Regions from separate parts of the Homo sapiens genome. Here region 1 is linked to region 2. The links are contacts of gene promoters, found by promoter capture Hi-C in human tissues and cell types (Jung and others, 2019). All regions are on one chromosome and are shown on one strand. Each heading gives the region's core, a stretch centred on a gene start or on the middle of the fragment in contact. The rest is flanking DNA. Distances are from core to core; before and after follow the strand shown. Region 1 overlaps ABHD12 (abhydrolase domain containing 12, lysophospholipase). Region 2 holds the start of GINS1 (GINS complex subunit 1).

Region 1 (3,731 bases), core at 133-2,632, 53 kb before region 2:
TAATACCAAAATAACAGACAAAATAAATCAGAAATCTCATATAATGCTTTTTCCAAATTCTAGAGCTGAGGGCAAGCCATAGGTGTTTTTTTTGTTTGTTTCTGTTTTTTTTTTTCCTGGCAAACATGCCATGTTTAATATACCTTTAAAGTTAATTCCCAAAGTGTGAACAAGTATCTGTAAATGAAAGTAAATAACTCAAACAAAAAATTTAAAGAATAAGCAAATTTATAAGCAGAATATGTAAATATTTAAGCAGAATATGCAGCATTACCTTCTAACTCTTCCAAAAGACAATGCTCTCAAAACATGTGTTTGGGAATATGGTTATTTATGCAGCACTCAGGAGGGCACACAGATAAAGGCCCCAAAGGGAAAAACACAGCTGAACCTAAGCCTGACCCAGCTGTATTCTGTACAGGCTGGGCTGCTGCTGGGTTCACTTTAGAGCAGGACTGAGAATGTTAGCTTCTACCCCCGGCAGGCAGACCCTTGGCTCTTACGGGAGAGTTGCTGTGATCCTTCCAAGGTCCAGGAAATAAGCAAGCACCCGAGGCATAGAGAAATTAAAATTTGTCTTGGGCCTAGAGACCATAGCCTGCCTGGGCCAACGGCTGTCTGCACACCTTGGGACACACTGCTCACTTCGCCTTCCTGGCCTTTCCTTCTGTCCTCTGCAGAACCAAACTCAACGTCAGGCCGTGGTTTCTGCTCATCAAAGAATGACTGCTGCGTGATCACTAACGTGCCACCACCTGCACTTCAGTGTCTCAAGGTCTCCCCTGCCGCTGACATTTGGAACAGGCTGGTCAGGATACTGAGGATGCTGGACTCTCCTTCGCAGTGGTCTTTGTATAAACCCAAGGGGAATGGGAATTTGGAGACAAAGGAAGCCATCCTGGAGCGGCCAAATAAAGCCTTTAATCTTTAAGGACGGGGAGGTTCTTATTTCAAGACCTAAAGCAAATTCCTAAGTGAATAAACAAATGGGTAGGAATTTATAGCCTCAATAAATCAACTAAGTTGAATGTAGCACTAGATCATATTTGGCAGTAAAGCAAAAACCAAAAACCAGAATCTGGCCTGAAGGGCTGTTCCCACCTGTGGTGCCAGTTCACAGGTGTAGCGGCAGAAGACGGACACAGGGTGCACACTGTCCTGGAGGCAGGAAACAGGCAGGCAGGAAGGTCTGGGGAGAACTGGGGGGCAGGGAGGCAGGGAGGGGGTCACCCCACTGACCCCAGCTCTGGTGACAGAATACGTTCTACATTTTTATGGCCCAGTTTTTAAACATTCTGGTTTTTCAGCATCGATTGCCACTGTTTGCTATTCATGCCTCATAGTCTAAAAGGCTGTACATAAGCCACGTGTTACAGATGAAAAGCTGAGGCTTGTGTACAAGATGCACTGTCCATTGGAACTGGACACAGCCCATCTTTCCTGATGGCCATGATGAGGACCCTTTTGGTTCCCCATTTACACAACCACAGGATCCCAAATGGATGGTGAAAGACAGTGACACCAAAAGAAATCTGACAAGCCAAACTATTAAGTGCAATAAAATCCTAAGATAGAATTGTTATAATTAGAAAAAAAAATTACTATTTTAGAAAAAAAAAATTAACTTGTCTGGTTTCCTCAGCTTTTGACTGTCGTATTTTCTTAGAATGACAGTGTTTGGCCTCCCTCCAGCAGTTCAGAATTAGAAACCTACCCCAATCACATCTATCCCTTCTTTTACCTGACTTTGCTTTCTCTTTCCTATCTCTTTCTTCTCTTTCTGTACTTTCTGAACAGATACTCAAGCATAATTAGACTACTTTGAAGAACAAAGACATTATTTCCTAAGAGGTCTGAGCTGTCAATGATTTTGTATTTGGATCAGGAAACAGGAAAAGTAAAGGTACAATCACTCCAGAGGGCCCCCACTCTCAAATAATGCAGCACATTCCTGCTAAGCTACAGTGGGGTGTTCTGGGCACCACTGGATTCACTGGTGCCACATCATGCATGTACACAACTGATGTTTTCCATCCTGACGACCTGCAGGCTGGACGACACTTAATGCAGCCCCTCCAGACTACAAGAAGAGCACTTCCATTCCCTGCTGCTGCCTATCAAAGAGAAATATGCAGAAAACAAAGATTTTAAAAAACAGACCCTGTCCCCAGTTTTAAGGGCAATATAGAAAAAAAAAGCTGAGCTCATCATGCTTAAGAAGAAATGCTGTGTCCCTGAACTCAATCTAGAAAGCTTTCTGTTGCCACTTCCCCCTTTTTGTTTTTACCATTTCCTGCTAAAAGAGTAAAACATTTTCTTTGGGAAATTTAAAGGGTTTTTTTGTTGTTTTGTACTTTGATTTCCCATACTGCATTTGACAAAGTATAAACGGTTTTTTTTTTGTTGTTTGTTTGTTTTTGAGACAGTCTTGCTCTGTCACCAGGCTGGAGTGCAGTGGCACGATCCCAGCTCACTGCAACCTCCGCCTCCCGGGTTCAAGCCATTCTCCTACCTCAGCCTCCCGAGTAGCTGGGATTACAGGCACCCACCACCATGCCCAGGTAATTTTTGTATTTTTAGTAGAGACGGGGTTTCACCATGTTGGCCAGGATGGTCTCAATCTCCTGATCTCGTGATCCACCGGCCTCAGCCTCCCAAAGTGCTGGGATTACAGGCGTGAGCCACTGCGCCCAGCCCATAAAGGGTATTTTTAAGAAAAAAAAGTTTCACTGCATGCCACCAAATAAAAGTTGTCATTTATATTTCAGGAGGCTGACTTCCTTTTGCATGCTTTGAGCTGTGAAACTGGGCCAATAATAGGAGGTACTGATGGACAGACACAGAGTCCTTTCCTGAGAGAACAAAAGCCATTCTAACAACCAGGGGAGCCCACAAGATCATCTGTGTTGATGAAGCCTGTTTCTATTGATGCAGTTTCTGCGCTTGGTGGTGATGAAGAAGGGCATACCCTGAGTGTACTATGTAAAGCCTTCCCATCAAACAGCATCTGTAAAACTGCAAGGGAAAAAACACATCCAGGGTCAGACATTTATGGTAGCTCCTCTAGGTCTCCACTCTTGCACCTGAGACTGCGGAGGTTTTGCTTCCCACGGGGGCACAGGGCTCCTTAGGTTGCCACATATCAATAAACACTCAGTGCCTGCAAGAGGCTTTTCTATCAGCTCAGCCAGGCAGATGGCCACCTGTCTGCTTTCAGAGGTGGCAGATGGCTTTCCCAGGCGCTGCTCTTGCACACTTTCCTTGCAGGGTGCAGGTCCCTCTGTGGATATCCCTTAGATTACAGGACTGGGAGGTGTGGGCCTTCAGGGCCTTGCTGAACAGCAGCTGGGCAGGGAGTGTGGCAGAGGTGCCAGCGTTCCCTCTGCCAGTTTGACAGTGATTTCCTTTTCCTCCTACTGTCCAGGGTAACTGTTTGAACAACCTGCCCTGGTTCCTTTGACGGGGGAGGAAGAGAGGGCTGGGCCCTCAGTCTGAGGACTTTAAAAGCCCTGCGGAGCACCAGGAGCACTGTGGCAGAGTGGCAGGTGGCAGAGTGGTAGGAGAGGGGTCTCCAGAGCCTCTGACTGTGATGGAATCTGCCCTAATGGGCTGCTGTGCATATGAATGAGGCAGGAAGGGAAATGCTTAGCGAGGCAGGCATCTCGAATGAGGACTGGGCAGTGAGCAGCACAATGAGGCCGCACAGTGCACGCACCTGTAATCCCAGCACG
Region 2 (3,849 bases), core at 645-3,144:
TGCCAGCTGATCCCATCAAGTGCAGGGTCTACAAAATATCTCAAGCACTGGTCTTAGGTTTTATAATAGTGCTGCTATCCCTAGGAGCACTTGGGGAGGTTTTAGAATCTTGTAGCCTCCCGCTGCGAGACTCGTAAATTTCTAGTCTTGTGGCTACTCTGTTACTCCTGCAAAGGCAATCTAGTCCCCAGACAAAAAGGGTTTCGCTTTGGTAAAGGGCTAAGTATTTGTTTCAAAATTAAACTATAAACTAAGTTTCTCCCCAAGTTAATTCGCCCTAAGCCCAGGAATGAACAAGGATGGCTTGGCGGTTAGAAGCAAGATGGAGCCAGTTAGGTCAGATCTCTTTCACTGTAATAATTTTCTCTATTATAATTTTTTCAAAGGCGGTTTCAAAAAGGCAATGTTTGCTGGGTGCGGTGGCTCACGCTGTAATTCCAGCACTTTGGGAGGCCCAGGCGGACGGATCCCTTGAGCTCAAGAGTTGTCGACCAGACTGGCCAACATGGTGAAACCCTGTCTCTACTTAAAATACAAAATAGCCAGGTGTGGTGGCCTGAGCCTGTAGTCCCAGCTACTCAGAGGGCTGAGGGGGGAAAATTACCTCAGCCCGGGAAGTGGAGGCTGCAGTGAGCTGAGATGGCGCCACTGCACTCCACCTGGGTAACGGGAGTTAAGACCCTGTCTCCAAAAAAAAAAGGCAATGTCATTATTCAACATAAGCCTGAGTAGGCCATTCCCATGCCCATTCCTTAGATGACATATCTACTGTATATTTGCAAAAGATCAACATAGTTTCTAGGGTTAGCTAGAATTAATCCAAGATTGCGCCGGTTGCGGTGGCTCATGCCTGTAATCCCAGCACTTTGGGAGGCCGAGGTGGGCGGATCACGAGGTCAGGAAATTGAGACCGTCCTGGCTAACACGGTGAAACCCCGTCTATACTTAAAAAATTCAAAAAATTAGCTGGGCGTGGTGGCGGGCGCCTGTAGTCCCAGCTACTCGGGAGGCTGAGGCAGGAGAATGGCGTGAACCCGGGAGGCGGAGCTTACAGTGAGCCGAGTTCGCGCCACTGCACTCCAGCCTGGGCGACAGAGCGAGACTCCATCTCAAAAAAAAAAAAATCCAAGATTGCTTGTTAGAAATTAACATTGCTTTTTGAAAAATTGCCTAATAAAACAATTCTTTAGCAGTGATTCCCATCTTCCATATGCTTAAGAAATATTCCATAACCATCTAGCCAAGAAAATTCCTAGTGAATTCGTATTAATCTAGGGCAGATATTACAAATATTTTTAAAAGACTATTTTAAAATCAAAGGGTGGTACTGTGGTGTTGGAAATGGAAAGCCTAAATAACAGTCTAATCACTCTGGAGCTGTGTGACCTTGGGCAAGTTACCTAACTTCTGTTTCCTTATTAATCCCGGGTCTTAAAACACTTCAGAGATAATTGTGGGAATGAAATACACACTGCAGTCCCTACCAGCACTAGGTACCCAATAAAAGAGAGTTTCATTTTAATATCAAACAGAAAACCCGCACTGCAAAACTGAAACCCTTGCGTCCTACCAATGCACACCAAGTTTTTGGGCCTTTCCTCTTAACCTCAAAGTGCTCTTTTCTTGAACCTAAACGAGAATGAATGAATCAAAAGGAAAATGACAAGGAAGCTGCGGGGCGTGCATTTATTTCCAGCTCTGCTGCCCGTAGAGTCCCCCGGCCCACTGCCTGAGAACTGGAAAAGCCGTCTCTGCTCAGCCGAGGGGTTCTGCCATCTCCGGGGCGGGGACCTCACCTTGGAAAGACCCCTCCCACTCCGCCCCTCTTGGAATGCGGCTGAGCGGTGGATGTCCCTTTTCGGGCGCCGTAGGCGCGTTCCTATTGGCTAGCTTTGTTCGGCGCCAAAGCGCGGAGCGGAGGCCGAGGCGAGAGCCTGGCGCTGTAGGACTAGAACGAAAGGAGTGAGGCGCCGAGAGCCCAGATACCATTTTGGCGTGAGAGCTGGTGGTTGGCAAGGCCGCGGGAGTGGGAAGCGTCCGCCATGTTCTGCGAAAAAGCCATGGAACTGATCCGCGAGCTGCATCGCGCGCCCGAAGGGCAACTGCCTGCCTTCAACGTGAGGGGCGGGTAGACTTGGACGGGGCATGCCGGCGTTGGGCCCTGGGCTCTGGGGCGGGGCGGCTCCCCGTCAGGGTTCACTTTCGCACCTTGTTCCCTCCGAGCTCCGGAAAACTTGGGAAGCAGCAAAACAAAATTCAGGAGGAAAGAGAAAGCATTCATGCTTACGCTACCCAGCGATTTGGTGAATTTCCTCATCTGAGCAAATTTTGCATTTTAGCAGTTTTCCTTGGACAGATTTGTTCCGGTCCCTTAAAATATTTACAGGTTGCCTGATAATTTAGCATTTCTTGCTCACTCAGGCATCTAATCGTGGTCAGTAAAAGCTAGGCCTCTGGAACCTGGCTGAGATTCTGGTTCTGTAGTGTGACTTTGGGGCAGTTACTCAAGCTTTCTGTGCTCTCAGTTTTCTCATACGCAAAAATGGGGATGGTGACAATAATAGTACCCAACGCATGATGTAGTGGACGCAAAATGAGTGGCATGTGTAAGGGTCTCTGCATATGCCTCACATACAGTAAGGGCTGAGTCAGTGTTAGCTATTAATATTACTTTTCTCCTGCTGCTGCTGTTACTATTAATATTATGATTATTTGTATTTTTCTATCACTGCTACCCCAGGGAGAGTGCTAAGCACTTCATGTACATTATCTTTTGTCTTTCTAATAACCCTTTGAGGGCCCGGTACCATGGCTCCTGCCTGTAATCCCAGCACTTTGGGAGGCTGAGGCGGGAGGATCGCTTGATCCTGCCACTGCATTCCAGCCTGAGTGACAGGGAGACCCTGTCCCAAACAAAACAAAAATAACTTTTTGATGTTTAAACTATTGTTTTCTACTTTTTTCAGCTATATATGCATAGGATTGGGGAGATTTAAGTATATTGCCTAAGGTGACACAGCAAGAAAGCTAGGATTTGAACCCTGGCACTCTGGCTCCAGAGCCTGCACTCTAAATTGTATATTTCACTTACGTCATAGAGCAGGCATTATGTGGATGTCAGGACACATTCTGCTGGAAGATGGGCACAAAAACAGATAATAGAATTCACCACGCTAAGTGATACTAAGGAGGTATAGCAAGGAGCACGAAGGAGAAACACCAGTATGAGCTGGGGTAGAAGAGGTGATATATGAGCCTTTCCATCCTCAAGGATGAGGTTACTGATCTGAGAAGGAAGCGAGGCATCCCAGCCAAAGGATGCTGCAGCACAAAGTCACGTGGTCACACTGGAGAGGGTGACCAATAGGGCCTGTGGGGAGTCTAGGAAGGTGGCTCACAGCCTACATGAATTTGTTGTTCACTTATAAGGCATGCTGGGAGCTGGTAGAGGATTTTAGACAAGGAAGTGATAGGGTAATTTTTGTGTTTTGAAGGTAACTGCGGCAGCAATATGGGGAATGGATTGAAGAGAGGAAAGAATGGGACAGGGAGATGGCTACTGGGTGGCTGATAGAGCAGGTGAGAGGTGTGTGGTCTGAACTGTGTCAGGTCAGTGGCACTGAGATCAGTGTTTGGGTTTTAGAGACATGAAGCAAACATGACTTGTAGCTATTAGAGCAGGGGCAGAGATGGGGTCCATAATGAATAAGAGGGAGGAATTGGGATCTTGGAGGATCCTTAGGAAACTGGGTAAACAACATCAGAGTTCAGGAGATAGAGTGTGTTGGGAAAGGTAATGAGTTTTGTTTTGAACACTAAAGAGCACCTAGCCAGACAATTAGATTGTCT

Evidence for each region. The method cuts DNA at HindIII sites, captures the fragments that hold promoters and counts their contacts. A contact is called where the count stands out against the background at its distance.
Region 1: a contact is called between a fragment that was not itself captured here and the fragment with the promoter of GINS1 in region 2, in 2 of the 25 tissues and cell types used here (IMR-90 fibroblasts and hippocampus).

Annotation. Positions count from the first base shown.
Region 1 is chr20:25,353,161-25,356,891 of GRCh38, forward strand. The region is part of intron 1 of ABHD12 (abhydrolase domain containing 12, lysophospholipase); the gene reads right to left. Among named protein-coding and RNA genes, the nearest start is that of ABHD12, 36 kb to the right of the region's middle. RefSeq lists an enhancer at 3,335-3,731. The HindIII fragment of the contact is 7,479 bases long and covers 1-3,731 here.
Region 2 is chr20:25,405,779-25,409,627 of GRCh38, forward strand. It overlaps GINS1 (GINS complex subunit 1), which reads left to right and starts at 1,895. Exons shown (of 7, transcript NM_021067.5): 1 at 1,895-2,117. The coding sequence starts at 2,043. LOC105372581 (a long non-coding RNA gene) reads right to left here and starts at 2,517. Exons shown (of 3, transcript XR_937403.3): 1 at 2,293-2,517. RefSeq lists enhancers at 1,937-2,186, 2,284-3,041. The HindIII fragment of the contact is 13,310 bases long and covers 1-3,849 here.